Linked DNA regions of Homo sapiens: all the other regions are linked to region 3. Evidence: promoter capture Hi-C in human tissues and cell types (Jung and others, 2019). All regions are on one chromosome and are shown on one strand. The core of a region is centred on a gene start or on the middle of the fragment in contact, and the rest is flanking DNA. Distances in the headings are between cores, read along the strand shown.

Region 1 (2,700 bases), core at 1-2,500, 1.1 Mb after region 3:
GCGCTGCTCCTGCTCTTGGTGCAGCTGCTGCGCTTCCTGAGGGCTGACGGCGACCTGACGCTACTATGGGCCGAGTGGCAGGGACGACGCCCAGGTGAGGACCGGCCAAAGCCTCTCCCGAGTGGGAGGCCGGGCTCGGAGCTGCCGAGGCGTGTCCGGGTCTCCGGGGGTTCTGCAGTGATCCCGGGTCCTTTGTGGGTTGCGTGGAGCTTCCCGAAGGCCCGGCTGCCCCTTACGCAGGGGCTGCGGGTTGGGGAGGAAGAGGCGAGGGCTAAAAAGCCCCTTTGTCTTCTGTACTGGTCGGAAGATGGCATGGACTTGCCATTCAGGCTAGGAAACCTCTCCAGGGAGTGCCAAACTGTTAAGAGAGCACTGGAGTCGGCGGTGCTCCTGAGGACTCTGACATCTTACGCAGGACTCAAGGGATTCTGGTGTTGTCTCAGAGGACGATACTTTGAGAAACAGTGAGCGTCCCCCTGCGTTTGTAAGGGAAACTCCTTTGTAAGTACCGGAAGCCCGGTCGTTCTACTACCTGAAGTAGTCTGTCCTCCACTTCCCACTCCTGCAGTTTTGAAATAAAATCTGAGATAATCCGAAGTCCTTCACCTACTTACTCATTCTAGTCAAACACTAGAAAGAACTAAAAATGGCAGTTTGCTGGAGCGAGATCATTATTGGCATACTGCCTATCTCACTTTATCTGTGTCTTGCTTAATATTTGACATCGTGTACATTTGCTGTATGTTGGCTCAGCGCTTTACACACATAACATTTAACTTTTACAACAACTCTTACAAGGTAGGCATTATTAATCTTATTTTCCAGATAGGGAAACTGATGTTCAGAGAAATTAAATGACCTACCGAAAGCTAGGCTTTGGATCCTTAAGGACTTGGGGAAATGGGGTTTCCCTGGACCAAGTTTCTGGTATAAAAATACTCAAAGCATGTTACAAAGTTTGCTTGGAAGAGATAGTAGCTCGAAAGATAGACTATGTTTGGGGGGGGCGTTATGGGTTGGGCGTTGAGGGGGGTGATATTGATCCCAAGGTGAGAATTGGTTCCTGTGGACAAAAAAAAAAAAAAAAAAAAATCTGGTAATACAGTGGTTTGTGCCCCTCCAAAGCTTAACCCCACCCGAGAAAATATTATTCCTTAGTATTTCATTTTTCTGGTTGGGTTTTCTTGGGTATAGCATGTGCAGCACTGACATTGAGTTCACGAAAAATACACAACATGGACGCCACAGCAGTGCTACAAAACTATGGCAAGTGATTGGGCTTTCTCCTTTTAAAGCAGGAATCCCAAATACTGCACAACTTCATTAACCAAGGGCTTTCTCTTGATCGATTGTTCCACCTCAGCGGGGGAATATGTGTGCCTATTGGCTGCCATTGGCTGCCTTGCAGACGTTGTTTGTGTTTGATCTTTAGTGCTTTTGTGTTCACTTGGACTTGGAGAATTAAACGAAAATAGATTATATTTTATTATTTAATCCTACAAAAAATATTCAACCCATCAAATTATGTCAAGTGCTAAAAAGCAAAATTATTGACAACATCTGAATGAATATCTCTAAGCTACTAAGTTAAAAGTTATTTTCTCATATTAAGGAAAAGTTAAAAGTTAAGATCATTGAAAATTTTAAGAAATTCATTTAATATTTTCAGTTGTGTTTTGTCGGAAAAGAACAGTTTGAAGGATTTTAAATTTAATTACATTGTTATCATTATGTAGTTATATAATTTGCAAATTTGCACATGTAGTTTGATAAATTGCTATTTATCTAAGTAAGTTACATAAAAGTTATTCAGCAAAAATCTGGCGTGGTGGCATGTACCTGCAATCCCAACTACTCTGGAGGCTAAGGTAGGAGGGTCATTTGAGCCCAGGAGTTCAAGACCAGCCTGGGCAGCATAGTGAGACACTGTCTCAAAAACCATAAAAATGTTTTTCAGCAAATACAGTTATAAAGTTAGAAGTTAATAACTTTTAAATTTTAATTTAACATTTAACTTAATTTTAAAATTTAGTCATATGCTTATTTAGTCATATGCTTATTAACTAAGGAGTAAGCTTTTTTTCTTTTTCTTTTTTTTTTTGAGACAGAGTCTCGCTCTGTTGGCCAGGCTGGAGTGCAGTGGTATGATCTTGGCTCACTGCAACCTCTATCTCCTGGGTTCAAGTGATTCTCCTGCTTCAGCCTCCCTAGTAGCTGGGATTACAGGTGCGTGCCACCACGCATGGGTAAGTTTTGTATTTTTAGTAGACCTGGGGTTTCGCCATGTTGGCCAGGCTAGTCTCAAACCCCTGACCTCAGGTGATCCACCCCGCTCTGCCTCCCAAAGTGTTGGGATTACAGGCATTAGCCACTGCGCCTGGCAGGAGTAAACTTTATAGAACTCCTTTTATGTATAAAGCACAGATATATGTACAGTACATAAATGATATACAGTATATCTGTGGAATTAACATTTCACAGGAGAGTTTTAGGGGAAAAAAAAGTCTAAAAAGACTCCTGGTGGAGGTAGGGAGTGAGAAAGAAGAAAAGATTAAAGGAAAATTGAAATAGACTCAGATTCCCAAAACAGCTCAGACTGGAGAGATGGGCAGACTCTATCAAGATGAAAAAAGAAAAAAAAATCCTTCTTGACTTCTCTGTAGGTTTATTATTTTTTGTCACTTAAAAAAATAGCACACT
Region 2 (2,701 bases), core at 89-2,588, 1.0 Mb after region 3:
GAGCTCTAGTGACTATAAAAATTAGATACTGACCTATTTTCACTACAATTATAGTACAAGCAAAATACTAAAAAGACATGGCATAGAACTATTTAGTTTATAAAGTTTTCTAATAATCTTTTAGCATTTACAATCTCAATTTGCCTCATCTGTTAACTAATTCAGATTTATCAGTTTTGGATAACTTGTCTTATCCAAGTTATCTATAGACAGATCTATAGACAGAAAGTGTCTTATCCAAGTTATCCAAAACTGAAGTGGATTAAATTCCTAGTTTGCTACTTATAAATCGCCGCATATTTGAGGATTTGGACTCAAACTAACCCAGAAAACAATAACTGACTTCCTGATCCAATCCATCCTTTTTTCTCTTCCTTAAAACTAATAAACAAAACACCTCACATAGAGCATCTACAAATGTTTGCTGATAACCTTGTATACTTAAGTTGAAAGAAAGGAAAAATATAACTTATTAAACATTTAAGATGGTAAAAGATTCATTTATATATAAATACATGGGGATTCTAAATATTTTACACATATGAAATGTCCCTGCTGAAAAAAATGACCAAAAGCATTTGCCTCTAACAGACTTCAGTTGATATAATCTAACATTTTTCAAAATAGAGTCACTCACTGAGTTCATGAATTGTGACATGCAATTTTTTTGTGTATGTAGGGAGATAGATGCTGAGGAAAGAGAGAAAAAAACCTTTTCAAGTGAAAGTTCTATTTAATAGCTTAAAAAATGTGTAACCACCTACCTCCTATACTTGAATAGCCACACCTCAAATCGCATGGCCCAAAATGAACTTCTCAACTACTGCCACTTCTTAGTTCCACATCTGAGGAAACAGATCTATCCTTAGTCATAAGCTCATAGAATCCTCTATTTCCCTTATCGCAGCATTTATCTGGTGAATTATCTCTCACTTTAGATTTTAAGATCCAGGAGGAAAGAGATTATGTCTTTTTTGTTCATATTTAACACATGACACTTGACGAATACATGAGACAGATGAATAACAGCCATTATACCTTGGCTTCTCCCTTGTCAACACTGATTATCTTCTATGCAGGAAAAAGTATTTTCAGAGAAGTTGGCCGGCCAACAAACTGTATCCTACCATTTTCCATCTATAGAATACATGGTTGTCTTTTATCCCTACAAAAATATCATAGTGGATTTCTAAAAAGAAAATATTGGACCCTAAAAGAAATCTACGGCTTAATCAAAACTTGATTTTCAGATTACTGTTCATCAATGACTTTAAAAAGTTTATCAACATCATTAGATACACACTCCCATTATTGAAAAATGGCACATAAGGAAGGGAACAAAAGAGAAAAAACATAGTTATGACTAAAAGCCCACACATTTTCTTTCCCTGAGCTATTTATTTATTAATCTGCTCATTCATTCAACATTCATGGATGGATGAACTTTTTCTAAAGTTTTCTCTACACAATAAGCCAAGTATAAAGTAATTCAGACACAAACGAATTTCTGGGAGCTGGGAAATCCATTGTCAATGCATTCAATGTAGTCTAGCCAAAAATATCTCTAACTTAATCTTGGAGTTTTACTACATAAAACAAGTAATACTATTTACACTTATAGAGCTACTTATTTTACTGACTGTAGCAAACCAGAAAAGATCACACTAGATGGCTGACTAGTTGAAACACCTGCTTACTGTATCAAGAAGCATTTACGCAGAAAGAGAAAATGAAGATGACAGATATGGACTAACAAAGGGTAAGCTGTGGGTTGGTCACAAAACAAAAACTGCCACTTCTAAGATTGGCCCCTTGGCAACCAAAACAGTCTTACAGGCTGTCAGAAAGGATAATACCCTACTGCTTTACAAAAAGTGAAAATTTTATTTCCTATCTACTTAACATTCTGAGGTATGATGGCATACTGCAAAGATGTTTTTCTAAAGCCTGGTAAGTTATGAGATTCTGTTTGGAAAAACAAAAACAAAAAAATATATAGCCATCCCTTATCTTTTATCATTCACATTTTCATTTCTGAATTTTGGTAATAAAGGTAAGCACACTTCATCTTTATACACACAGTACCAAATTATGATGTGATCCTACTAGTCATGATAAAGAAAAAGGTAGTACTAAGAATCCAAGACATTCAAAGTTGGTAATGAATTATATTCTTATTCTTTAAAACAGTACAATAGACAATTCTTGAATAACATATTCTTTAAAATAATTAAGCCACCTAAAGTATAACTAAAAAAAGAATGTTTACTTACATCCCTCCCTGAGGTGGTCATATTATAGATGAATACAAAACACCAGCCTAAATTTAAAGTGATTATACATGACCCATGCTTTCTCATAGTCTGCTGTATTTCCAGCTCACATTCAATTTTCTGTCATGTGTTCATCAGAAAATGAACAGGGAGACTATAAAAATTTAACAGTCATATATTGATAATCTCTTTAAATGAATGAAACAAGACCTGTTTTTAAGGAATTTATTTTCAATAAACATTGAAGTTACCATTTATAGTATAATCTCTATTGTAAACTCAGCTAGCTTGTGTTTAAGACTATCTTCTCAGACTCACTGAGAATTTCATTTGAATAAAGGATCTGTGAAATAATTTATATCAGTGGGTTGCAAAGTAGTAAACATGAATAAAATTTTAAGCCATAAGAAAAAAGTGTGTATGGCTTG
Region 3 (2,700 bases), core at 101-2,600:
ATGCAATTTGATACTTGATTACACCCTATGATTCATAGCTATTATTGGCTATTTTGATTGTTTCTTACTCCTAATATGTCCCCTATCAAACTGCAAATGCCTTGAGGTCAAAGGTCCTTTTTTGTCTAATTAGCATAGGACTGAACACTTGGAAGATGCTAACAACATTCCTCTGTTAAATTTAATAAGGATTTTAACTTTCCAAGTTCAATGGGTTTTGAATGACTCCTGAATATAATATATTATGCTAGGTGTAGTGTAATAGAGAAAACATTTGTATTACTTGCATTTTACAAGCTGGAGGAGAAGCAAGAACACAATACCTAGGGAAGATTTAGATTTAGTAAGAAATCAGAACGTCCCAATACCCCCTTGTATATGTTTTACCAACCTAGATTTAAAAAAAAAAAAAAAAAAGCCAGAATCCCAGGCAACATAGGGAGCTAATTTGAGTTCTTTTTATAATAAATCCTATAAATCCTTGTAGTTTACTTCCTTAGGCCAGACACTCCAGATGTTTTTGTGGATAGCAGCTAGGTCTCCTGGGACCTTGGATTGGGCCTTTCTCTAGTCAGGCAAATAATCTGAAAAGAAAACGAAATCACATGTAGTCCAGCACATTTTTTCCTTTCTTGGTTTCTCCACACCAGCTAAGAGTTATTTAAAGGCTCTGAACCTCTCCAGCCTTTGATTCTTTTTAAGGATGATTTTATTTTTAGAGAACTTTCCACATTTCCTAGTTATACAGCCAGACTGGGTGATCTGGCCAGAAAATCATTTTCCCTTAAAAAAAAAAAAAAAAAAAAAAAAAAAAAAAGCTAAAATTTGAACGCAGGCGTTGAATTCGAAACAGATTTATCATAACGTAATTCCCTGGACACTCCCAACTTGAGACTGAAAGCTGGGCGAAAGCGGTTTGTGAAGCTAACCTAAAAGACAAAATGGTCTAGAGCCACCTTTTCCCCGCAAATAACAGAGGATTAAGGATCTGAAATCTTCAAGCCTCCAGGACCACGGTGCAAGCCCTCAGCAAAAATTTCTGCTGGAGGCCGGAGCGCCTTTTGATTTCGGGAGACTGGCCCAGGAACTCTAGTCACTTGGAAGGCGGAAGAGAAGGTGGTACCTGAGCCAGGTAGGAGCCACTCAGAGGCAGCCCGGGGCCGCCACTCACCTAGGAGAGGAGGTGGAGTCCGATGACCTGGACTGAGAGGAAACGCGAGACTGAGTCTACCAGGTGAGGTAAAAAACACCCACCTGCTCACCTCGGAAGGGGCGGGCGAGGTGCGGCTCCCGGTGACCCGCGGGGGTGCAGCGCACCTGGGCGGAGGCGGAACTGGGAGGGTGTGGGCACTGCTCGTAGGGCCTGGAACTAAACTCACCTGTGACGGAGGCAGAGGAGGGGCCCGGGCAAAAACCCACCTGAGCTGGCGGGAAACCCGACCCGCGAGCAGTCCCCGGGCTTGCGCGGCGCGGAGAGGGAGGCGCCCCGCGGCGGGGCCCCCACTCGGTCAGCCCGCGCGTCGGTCCCCGCGCGGCCGCCATGACCTGGAGCGCCACGGCCCGGGGCGCCCACCAGCCCGACAACACCGCCTTCACTCAGCAGCGCCTCCCCGCCTGGCAGCCGCTGCTGTCGGCCAGCATCGCGCTGCCGCTCTTCTTCTGCGCGGGCCTGGCCTTCATCGGCCTGGGCCTGGGCCTCTACTACTCCTCCAACGGCATCAAGGAGCTGGAGTACGACTATACAGGCGACCCGGGCACCGGTAACTGCTCGGTGTGCGCCGCGGCTGGCCAGGGCCGGGCGCTGCCGCCCCCCTGCTCGTGCGCCTGGTACTTCTCGCTGCCCGAGCTCTTCCAGGGCCCAGTGTACCTCTACTACGAGCTGACCAACTTCTACCAGAACAACCGGCGCTACGGCGTGTCCCGCGACGACGCGCAGCTGAGCGGACTCCCCAGCGCGCTGCGCCACCCTGTCAACGAGTGCGCCCCCTACCAGCGCAGCGCGGCCGGCCTGCCCATCGCGCCCTGCGGCGCCATCGCCAACAGCCTCTTCAACGACTCCTTCTCGCTTTGGCACCAGCGCCAGCCCGGCGGGCCCTACGTCGAGGTGCCGCTCGACCGCTCCGGCATCGCCTGGTGGACCGACTACCACGTCAAGTTCCGCAACCCGCCGCTGGTCAACGGCAGCCTGGCGTTGGCCTTCCAGGGCACGGCGCCCCCGCCCAACTGGCGCCGGCCAGTCTACGAGCTCAGCCCCGACCCCAACAACACCGGCTTCATCAATCAGGACTTCGTGGTGTGGATGCGCACGGCGGCGCTGCCCACGTTCCGCAAACTGTACGCGCGCATCCGCCAGGGCAACTACTCGGCCGGGCTGCCGCGGGGCGCCTACCGCGTCAACATCACCTACAACTACCCGGTGCGCGCGTTCGGCGGCCACAAGCTCCTCATCTTCAGCAGCATCTCGTGGATGGGTGGCAAGAACCCCTTCCTGGGCATCGCCTACCTGGTCGTCGGCTCCCTCTGCATCCTCACCGGCTTTGTCATGCTGGTCGTCTACATTCGCTACCAGGACCAGGACGACGACGACGAGGAGTGATTCCGGCTTTCCAGGGATCCCTCCTGCTTCTTGCCAAAACTCTTGCAAGGTGCTTTTGGCATCTCCTCCTCGCCCGTCACCCAATTCCAACCTCGCCTAGCTTT

Evidence for each region. Contacts are between HindIII fragments. The study calls those that stand out against the background at their distance.
Region 1: a contact is called between a fragment that was not itself captured here and the fragment with the promoter of TMEM30B in region 3, in 2 of the 25 tissues and cell types used here (aorta and bladder).
Region 2: a contact is called between a fragment that was not itself captured here and the fragment with the promoter of TMEM30B in region 3, in 1 of the 25 tissues and cell types used here (thymus).

What each region holds. Positions count from the first base shown.
Region 1 is chr14:60,162,571-60,165,270 of GRCh38, reverse strand. It overlaps DHRS7 (dehydrogenase/reductase 7), which reads left to right. Exons shown (of 7, transcript NM_016029.4): 1 at 1-94. Among named protein-coding and RNA genes, the nearest start is that of DHRS7, 1.5 kb to the left of the region's middle. RefSeq lists enhancers at 110-159, 350-409. The HindIII fragment of the contact is 4,419 bases long and covers 1-2,700 here.
Region 2 is chr14:60,257,108-60,259,808 of GRCh38, reverse strand. The region is part of intron 1 of PPM1A (protein phosphatase, Mg2+/Mn2+ dependent 1A); the gene reads right to left. Among named protein-coding and RNA genes, the nearest start is that of PPM1A, 9.2 kb to the right of the region's middle. The HindIII fragment of the contact is 8,153 bases long and covers 1-2,701 here.
Region 3 is chr14:61,279,988-61,282,687 of GRCh38, reverse strand. TMEM30B (transmembrane protein 30B) reads left to right here and starts at 1,350. Exons shown (of 1, transcript NM_001017970.3): 1 at 1,350-2,700. The coding sequence starts at 1,541. The coding sequence ends at 2,596. It also overlaps a transcript of PRKCH not described here. RefSeq lists an enhancer at 1,925-2,700. The HindIII fragment of the contact is 14,970 bases long and covers 1-2,700 here.